2 separate regions of the Homo sapiens genome follow, and region 2 is linked to region 1. Evidence: promoter capture Hi-C in 16 types of primary human blood cells and fetal thymus (Javierre and others, 2016). All regions are on one chromosome and are shown on one strand. The core of a region is centred on a gene start or on the middle of the fragment in contact, and the rest is flanking DNA. Distances in the headings are between cores, read along the strand shown. Region 1 holds the start of BRD8 (bromodomain containing 8). Region 2 overlaps KLHL3 (kelch like family member 3).

Region 1 (4,256 bases), core at 1-2,500:
ACTTTCCGCCCCAGCCACTCCCCAGTTCCTTTACCTGCTGCTTGTCCTCTAGGGAGGTAGAGACGACAGAGCAGTCTGATAGCAGGTTCTTGCGTACCACAGACCCCAAATCTGCAGCTGTGGACTCAAACATGGGAGAAACTACGACATCGTCATCGGACAGCAAGCCCGCTGGCGGAGAAAGGATCCCTTGCGACATGACGGCAGGGGCAGCCTAGGTCTAAAAAGAGACCAAAAAGTGGGCAGGGAGAAGAACCTTTAGGGACAGAAGGGGCCGCGAATTTTAGGTAATAAGTCCCTTGCCCCAGGACACCGTGTCCCGCTTCCTACTTCTTTTCCCCTCCAATTATCGGCAAAGGGGAAGGGAATGAGAGAAGTTCACTTAATGAACAATTGAGAGAAGTTTGAGGCGGCATTTCTGAACGCGAACAGAAGTCCACAGACATCTGGCTCCAAAAGCAGAAGGCTACGCCTAAAGTAGGGCACCTCGCCCGCCGGTGCTGTGGAGGTGGTGTCAGGATCCCTCGGCTCCTTCTCTAACCTCACCCCAAGGACCACCGTGAGAACAGAGATGCAGCATTAAGAGAAAAACAGATGGCTGCAGCTCCGATTTCTTAAAGCCTATTCCGCGCGGGCAAGAGCTGGTAACCCGGGCTCCAGCACAGCCGCACACTCACCCGAAGACGTGCCACTTGCTCCTCCTGGGATACTGGCTTACTCACACCTAGTCGCCGAAGCTGGACTTTCGCAGCCGCAGAGCACAACTCCGCCCACGAGGTGCAGCTTTGTTACAGATACAATATTTTAAATTACGCGCTGCGTTCGTTCGGCCAATCAGATAGGGAAGCCTGCAGCTACCAATCCGCGTAAGGAAAGGGGGCGGGCCTGACTGGAATTCCAGTCGTTCGCTTCTGCTTGACCTCTGAGTTCTAATGTGGGTCCGGGTTACCAACTGTCGTGGATTCGCACTTATTTTGCCTGGGATTCTTCCAACTTAACCTTTTTCCTTGAACCTTAGACATTTCTTACCTAAGAGCCTAAAGGAAATCTTGAGGCTTCAGCAGCCAACTCCTGTCCTTCCTTAGCAACAATCTTAACAGGAGTGCACAGGGTAACTGGTTTAGGGTGCTTGCTTTGTCTTAAGGGGAAAAACGACATTTCCCAGGAGGCACCGCGAACCAACGCCGGTACACTATTTCCCAGAATTCCAGGGTTTCGGCCCTTCCAGACCGTCTCTCCTCAGGGTTGGAGACTTCGGGGCCAAGATGGCGACGGGAACGGGCAGTGAGTATCTGAGCAGGTTTTGCGTGAAAGGCCTTTGTAGATCCGAGGCTAGGCACCATATTTTTGTTACACGCTTAGGGAGTGGGAGAAGTGGGTTGCTTGAGAGCCCAGGGTTTTCAGAGACCTGCGCTCTACAGCATCGTGAAGACCAACGTTTGGGGGCCCAGAAATCTGGGGTCTTGTTTCTCAGGGAGAGAGCGGAGGTGTGAGAGAAGCAGCTTAGTGAATCCTAGTGTGTTAGGAACTCTGCGGGTTAACCGTAAAAGCACTCTAGAAACTTGGGCGTGCAGACGAAAAGATGTTATGAGCCAGACGGAGTAACCGGCACCTCAAAGAGCCATTCATTTTTTTGTCTGACGTTTGTGAGGCAGTGGAAGTGGGGTCTTTTAACCATGAGCTTTTCTTGCCACTCAGGAAATTGCATCTCGGGGATTTCAGCCATTTTTCTTTTTTTGGACTGAAAAGCTCTTTTACCCCCGACATTTGGAGTAGAGGATCTGAGAGAAGTAAACAAGTTTATGCTAAGAGGGAGGCGGGGTAGTAGGAGGGGCTGGCCGCTCGGGTTCCTGGGAAATAAGCCCTGAATAAGTTCAAACTGGAATAAAGTCCAGTATTCTTAAAACTGGGCTTTTAGGGAGAACTGCCTAATCTGACATTCCCTGTTTCTTAATAAAGCGGAGCTTCAAGCCATGGCGTTTTAAGAAATAAAATGTTAATAATTCACATGCAACGAATAGGTACCCCGGTCACTGGTGATATTTCACTTGGAGAGGTGAAAATCAAGATTTGGTTATAGTAGCTCACTTTGTCCTAACAAGTTGGGATGTTTTGTATTAGGCTTTTAGTCCTCTTTTTGGGGATTTTGGAGCTTAGCACTACAGTCTCAGTGGTTGTTTCCAAGGCTTTTTTTTTTTTCTCCCTTTCCCAGAACACAAGCTGCTAAGCACTGGCCCCACAGAGCCATGGTCCATCCGAGAGAAGCTATGTTTAGCATCTTCTGTCATGAGAAGTGGCGATCAAAATTGGTAAGGTATCTAGGATGTCAGCTTTTCTGGGTCTTAGAAATTGTTAGATACTCTTTCACATCGGTAGATTTCTATAGTTAATCATATTAAGCTGTAAGTAGACTTTCTTTTCTTTTTCTTCTTTTTTTGAGACTGAGTCTCCTTCTGTTGCCCAGGCTGGAGTGCAGTGGTGCGGACACGCCCAGCTAATTTTTGTATTTTTTAGTAGAGACAGAGTTTCGCCATGTTGGCCAGGCTGGTCTCGAACTCCTGACCTCAGGTGATCCCCCCACCTCGGCCTGCCAGAGTGCTGGGATTACAGGTGTGAGCCACTGCGCCTGGCCATGCCTGGCTAATTTTGTATTTTTAGTAGAGACGGGGTTTCACCATGTTGGCCACGATGGTCTCAATCTCCTGACCTCATGATCTGTCCGCCTCGGCCTCCCAAAGTGCTGGGATTACAGGCGTGAGCCACTGCCAGGCCTATTTTTTTTTTTTTTTTTTTGAGACAAGATTGCACTCTGTGGCCCAGGCTGGAGGGCAGTGGTGTGATCTTGGCTCACTGCAACCTCCATATCTCAGGCTCAAATGATCCTCCACCTCAGCCTCTTGAGTAGCTGGGACTACAGGTGCACACCACCATGCCCAGCTAATTTTTTTTATTTTTTTGTAGAGATGGGGGTTTCATCATGTTTCCTAGGCTGGTCTCGAACTCCTGCGTTCGAGCGATCCGCCCAACCTACTGGGATTACAGGTGTGAGCCACCAGGCCAGCTGTATTTCTTTTTTTAAACAGCTTTATTGAGATATAATTCACATACTATAAAATTAACCTACTTAAAATGTACAATATAATGGTTTTTAGTATATTCACAGTTGTGCAACCATCACCACAATCTAATTTTAGAACATTTTATTCTAAGAAAAACCCCTTACTCCTTAACTGTCAGTCCATGTTGTCCCCTCCTCACCACCCCCAAGCAAGCACTCATCTACTTTCTATTAATTAATTAATTAATTTGAGACAGAGTCTCACTGTCACACAGGCTGGAGTGTAGTAGTTAGATCTTGGCTCACTGCAACCTCCGCCTCCCAGGTTCAAGCGATTATCGTGCCTTAGCCTCCCAAGTAGCTGGGATTACAGCCATGCGCCACGAGTGGCCTGGCTAATTTTTGTATTTTTAGTAGAGATGAGGTTTTGTCCAGGCTGGTCTTGAAGTAATGCACCAGTCCTGGCCTCCAAAAGTGCTGGGATTACAAGTGTGAGCCACCATACCCAGCCAACTCTCTTGTCTCTGTAGATTTGCCTATTCTGGATATTTCATACAAATGGAATGATACGTGCTCTTCTGGACTTTTTTTTGTTTTTTTTAATCACTTGACATAACACTTTTTAAGGTTCATTCTTATGTAGCATGTATCAATACTTAATTCCTTTTTTAGCTGAATAATAATCTGTTGTATGAATATACCAAGTTTTATTTATCCATCACTTGATAGACAATTGGGTTGTTTCCACTTTTTGGCCATTATGAATAATGCTGATGATGTGCACATTCGTGTACAAGGTTGTGGACAATGTTTTTAATTCTCTTGAGTTTTTTATTCAAGGAGTGAAATTGCTGGGTTATGTAGTAACTTTATTATGTTTGACTTTTTTTTTTTTTTTTTTTTTTTTTTGCAGACAGGGTCTCACTGTCACCCAGGCTGGAGTGCAGTAGTGCGATCGTGGTTCACTGCAACCTCTGCCTCCTGGGCTCAAGTGATCCTCCGGCCTCAGCCTCCTGAGTAGCCGGGACTACAGGCACATGCCATCACCCCTGGCTAATTTTTGTATTTTTTGGTAGGGATGGGGTTTTGCCATGTTGCCCAGGCTGAACTTTTTTTTTTTTTTTAATTTAAATATTTATGTTTTTGTAGAGACGAGGTCCCACTATGTTCCCCAGGCTGGTCTCCAACTCTTGGCCTC
Region 2 (4,277 bases), core at 1,336-3,835, 520 kb after region 1:
GCAGAGGGCATTCTTACTGTTTTTATTCTACATTAACTTTACACGGGACATAAGTGAGGAAACGGGGGCATGGGGAGATGACGACATTGCCCCCAGGGTCTGATCTTCCTGAGCAGCCTCTATAAATTTGGTTCACAGTTACTGCTCTGTATTTTTACCCTTAAAAAACTATTGGAACTGGTTTTTATTTTAGAATGAACCATGATGATTCTACATTTGGGATAGCAGGTTTGTCCTTGTGTGTGTGTGTGTGTGTGTGTGTGTGTGTGTGTGTGTGTGTGTAGAGTGTGTGTGTGATCACTCTCTGAGGCCAGCAAGTAAACAAACCCTTTCTGTTTTTATTTTAAATATGAGTCTCAGATTAATTAAACACCTTTGTGGATGACTCATAACTTTTTCTCTCTCTCTTTTTTTTTTTTTTTTACAGATTGAGGGTTGTTTGAAAGCTTTTGTCTCTTTACTGAAGTTGCCCATGTTGCTTTTCTTTATAGGTGTTTGAAGCTGTGATCTCATGGATCAATTATGAGAAAGAAACCCGTTTAGAGCACATGGCAAAGCTGATGGAACATGTCCGACTTCCTCTCTTACCTAGGGACTACCTAGTCCAAGTGAGTGTTGTATGAAGAGCCAAGCACTTCTGTGTTCACCCAGACCTGTAGGAATAGCAATGGGCAATCCTGGTTGGATGGAGTAGTTGAGGGTTTAGTGGGTCTTCTGTATGTGCTGAGGGAACCAGCCCACTGGGTTAAGTGTTAGGTGTTGTAAAGTTTAAGAGCATAGGCTTGAAAATAGGACACTTAGGTTTCAGTCTCTGCTCTGCTGCTTATTAGTTTTGGATTTTTATTTAACCTCTTCAAGCCTCAGTTTTTCTTCCATAGAACAGATATTATAGTAGAGCCCAGCAGGGTTGTTGTGAGGACTAAAGGAGTAGAGTATGCAAGTCAGCTGCTTCGTGTGGAGCCTGGGGTAACAAATGTTCCATGAAAGTTAGCTGTCTTTGTTGAAGAGGACTGAAGCAAGAAGGGTCATGTCCACAATGTTTCTATGTTCCCTTTATGTCTTAGTTTTAGGCAACTTGAAGCCAAATTCAAGACTGTAAAAACGGTGCCTAGAATACAGAGTACTTCCACTTCCTCTGAAAAGGAAAGAAAAATTAAGAATTATGGGGTTTCCTTATGGTGCCATATGTTTTCTCGTTTAATCCTTATAATAACCCAGAGGGGCAAAGATTGTAACTCCTTTTTTTACACATGTAGGCCTTGAGGCTTATGGAGGTTGGGATTTATCGGGGTCACTAGCCTTAGAGAGGCTCAGGATTCAAATCCATGTCATTCTGGCTCTGCAGTGCATAGTTCTTCCGCTAAGCTAGCTGCCACCATTGATACGCTCTTTTCTGCATACCCATTACGTGACTTATTTTATACAGTAAATGGCATTAGACACTTTTATAAGCAGAGAATAAACCTTAAAATATATGAACAAAACAAAACATCGAGACAGCAGGTTAGCCCTCAGCTGTCTCCAAGGAGTCTCTGGAAGGAAGGGAAGATATGATGCAAGGATAAAGAGGAGGTTTAGCAGCCTAGCAGCCCAGCAGCCCAGCTCTTGTTACTTTCCAGCCATATAATACTGGGTACATGCTTAACCTTTTTAAACCTCAGTTTTCTTACCGGGAAAAAATGGCACTTGCCTTTATAGGATTGTTTGGGGATAAACAATAAAATGAGATAATCCATGTAGGCCTATAATACAGTGTTCAGTGAATGTTACTGATCTTACTCTGTAGTCTTTGTGACCACTGCTGTGATTCTTAGTAGCAGGTGACACAGTATCCTCACGAGCACTTGTAAACTCGTCTGCTGGTAACACTTGTAGATTGCAGATATGAGGGGTCAGTGAAATGTTCCCTGAATCGCCGTACTTCAGCCTTCTCAGGTGCTGAGGGATATGCTTGCAAGCTCTTAAATGGGGCATGCATGCTACTTTGGGTGATACCACTGCCACCTGGTGGCAGCATATCTTTCCTGTAGAAAAGGTCCCCTAAGCGGAGGAAGTGAACTTGCCTGAGCATCCAGTGTCAGTCAAACCTCCCACTGTCCTGTGGGAAGCTGGCTGGAGGTGGAGGAGGCACCTGGACTCCAGTATAGTCTCGCTTCCACAGGGAGGGTTGGCAACCTGGGGACCTGGGTTCCAGAGAAAGCTAAAGTGGCCTTAGAGACCGTTGGTCACAAACTTCATCAGGCATCCACAACTGAAGCTTAACAAACGTCACCATTAGGAAATGGCTCCTGGGTTATTATGCCAAAGCAGAATTTAGATCTGGAAAAGAAGGGGGTCAGAGGCAATGGGCATGAGAACTGTTGTGTGGGACTCCTCCCTTTGCCCTTTTTGCAGAAAGGCCTTTTATCAGGCCTCTCAGAGTGAACACCTCTGGAATAGGATGTTTCATTACATTCATTTGACTTTGAAACTTCAAATGAGTATAATTGCTGGGATGGCTGATGGTGGTGGAGGAGGAGGAGGAGAAGGAAGGGAAAGCCCTGGGCAGACCTCCACCAACACTGCCTGACTTCTGGGGGAGGTTTTTTTTTCTTTCACAAAAGGTAGCATTTATTAGGCTTTTACTCAGCATTTAAAAATATTGTACTAAATGTATAATATGTTGTGATAAAATGTTTATTACATAAACTTTGTTATTTTAACCATTTTAAGTGTACAATTTAGAGGCATTCATTACATTCAAATTCAGTACAACCATTACTATAAAGATTTCCAAAACTTTGTCATCACCCCCAAAGTTGAAACTCTTGTACCCATGAAGCACTAACTTTCCAGGAGAACTTTTAATTCAAGCTGAGTAAGTTCTTCTGGAGAAATAGCTGCTCATGCATTTCTCCTTCCTTCCAAGCTTTTTCAGGCATCCTCTCCCACCCTTTTTATTTTGTAATTGACCCTAGAAGTTTATGATTTGTCTCAAGCTGGCTCAGTTCCTTACTGGGAGGGGAAAAAAAAACCTTCCAAGGAAAACAGTTCTTGGGGACTGTCTCTGGGGAGGGAGGTGGTCAGAGGTACACAGAGGCCTTCTCTTGCCAATCCTTTTTTCCCTGCCAGCTCCAATGCTGCCCAGCAGATGATGGCCCTGGCCATGCTTTCATTCCTAGTGACAGATGGGGACCCAGGAGAGGCTCAGTCATGCCTTGTGCATCACTGACTTGAGGGCTGAGATAATTGAGGTGGGAGGCCCTTCTCATTCTCTGACTGGACTTGAATTCTTCAGGGTCAGAAATTTTGTCTTGTTCATCATTTTCTTCCTGGGGACCAGCACAGGGCTGCCCAACCAGGAGACATTCAATCAGTGTTAGCTGTTGAATGGAATTGATCTTTCCTAACACAAAGCAGCCCCAGAAGACCACATTACCCATTCCAGATATGCCACACAGTGATCTGACCTGGGCCAAAAGGTGGGGATTGGAGAGTTAGAGCACCAGAATGGCTTCATGCTTGGTCTTGCTCATGAAACCTTTAGGCTTACATGTGCTGAGCACCTGCTTAGGTCCTAAGCTCTGGAATAAGAGATAAAGAAGCCAGAGCCCCAGCTTAGATGGAGTCCTAGGTGAGGTCAATAGGTGGGACTTTGTGCAGGGTAATTTTTCTGCTCTGATGTTGTTACTCTGTTAGAAGGAGCCTCACTGGCCGATTTTCTGCCCTGAGACCTTCACTATAAGACAACGAATATGAATCTTTCTCCTTGACAAGCTTATTTTACTCAATGCCTCCAAAGGTTGGCTGATGGCTCCCACACCCTTTCCTCTTTCCCCTCACTCCTCCTCTCAGATGTCTGTTTGCCCTAAGCATTATAATGCATTCAAATCAGGAGAAATGTGGTTAGAGGCTTTCAGGATGGCTACTTGTCTTTTGTTTTGCATAAACTCATTTAAGCCTCAAAACAAACAAAACTAGTGAGGTTGTAGATACCTTTAATATGCCCATTTTACAGATGAGGAAACTGAGGATCAGAGACGTTAAGTAGTGGATCTGGTCTAATGCCAGAGCTTGATCCCTTATCCCACTGTGCTCTTAAAATGCAGGAGGTGAGCAGTAAGTTGTAACTCTTTGGGTCTGAGATGATGTGGTGAAGGAATGAATGAGTGTGGGAGTGCAGGAATGACTGAGCCCAGGGTGAAAGCTTGGGAAATGTGGCTGAGCTGTGCTCCAGGATCATCTGTGGATTATTACCTCTAGACGGTTGAAGAAGAAGCTTTGATAAAGAATAACAA

Evidence for each region. Contacts are between HindIII fragments. The CHiCAGO score rates a contact against its expected background, and 5 or more counts as called.
Region 2: a contact is called between a fragment that was not itself captured here and the fragment with the promoter of BRD8 in region 1, in 1 of 17 cell types (naive CD4 T cells). The highest score is 5.3, in naive CD4 T cells.

What each region holds. Positions count from the first base shown.
Region 1 is chr5:138,175,624-138,179,879 of GRCh38, reverse strand. It overlaps BRD8 (bromodomain containing 8), which reads left to right and starts at 1,250. Exons shown (of 27, transcript NM_139199.2): 1 at 1,250-1,284; 2 at 2,213-2,309. The coding sequence starts at 1,266. It overlaps KIF20A (kinesin family member 20A), which reads right to left and starts at 768. Exons shown (of 19, transcript NM_005733.3): 1 at 678-768; 2 at 35-220. The coding sequence starts at 199. RefSeq lists enhancers at 939-1,108, 1,249-1,298, 1,006-1,300. The HindIII fragment of the contact is 9,650 bases long and covers 1-4,256 here.
Region 2 is chr5:137,658,246-137,662,522 of GRCh38, reverse strand. It overlaps KLHL3 (kelch like family member 3), which reads left to right. Exons shown (of 15, transcript NM_017415.3): 7 at 492-608; 8 at 4,243-4,277. Among named protein-coding and RNA genes, the nearest start is that of MIR874, 13 kb to the right of the region's middle. The HindIII fragment of the contact is 651 bases long and covers 2,260-2,910 here.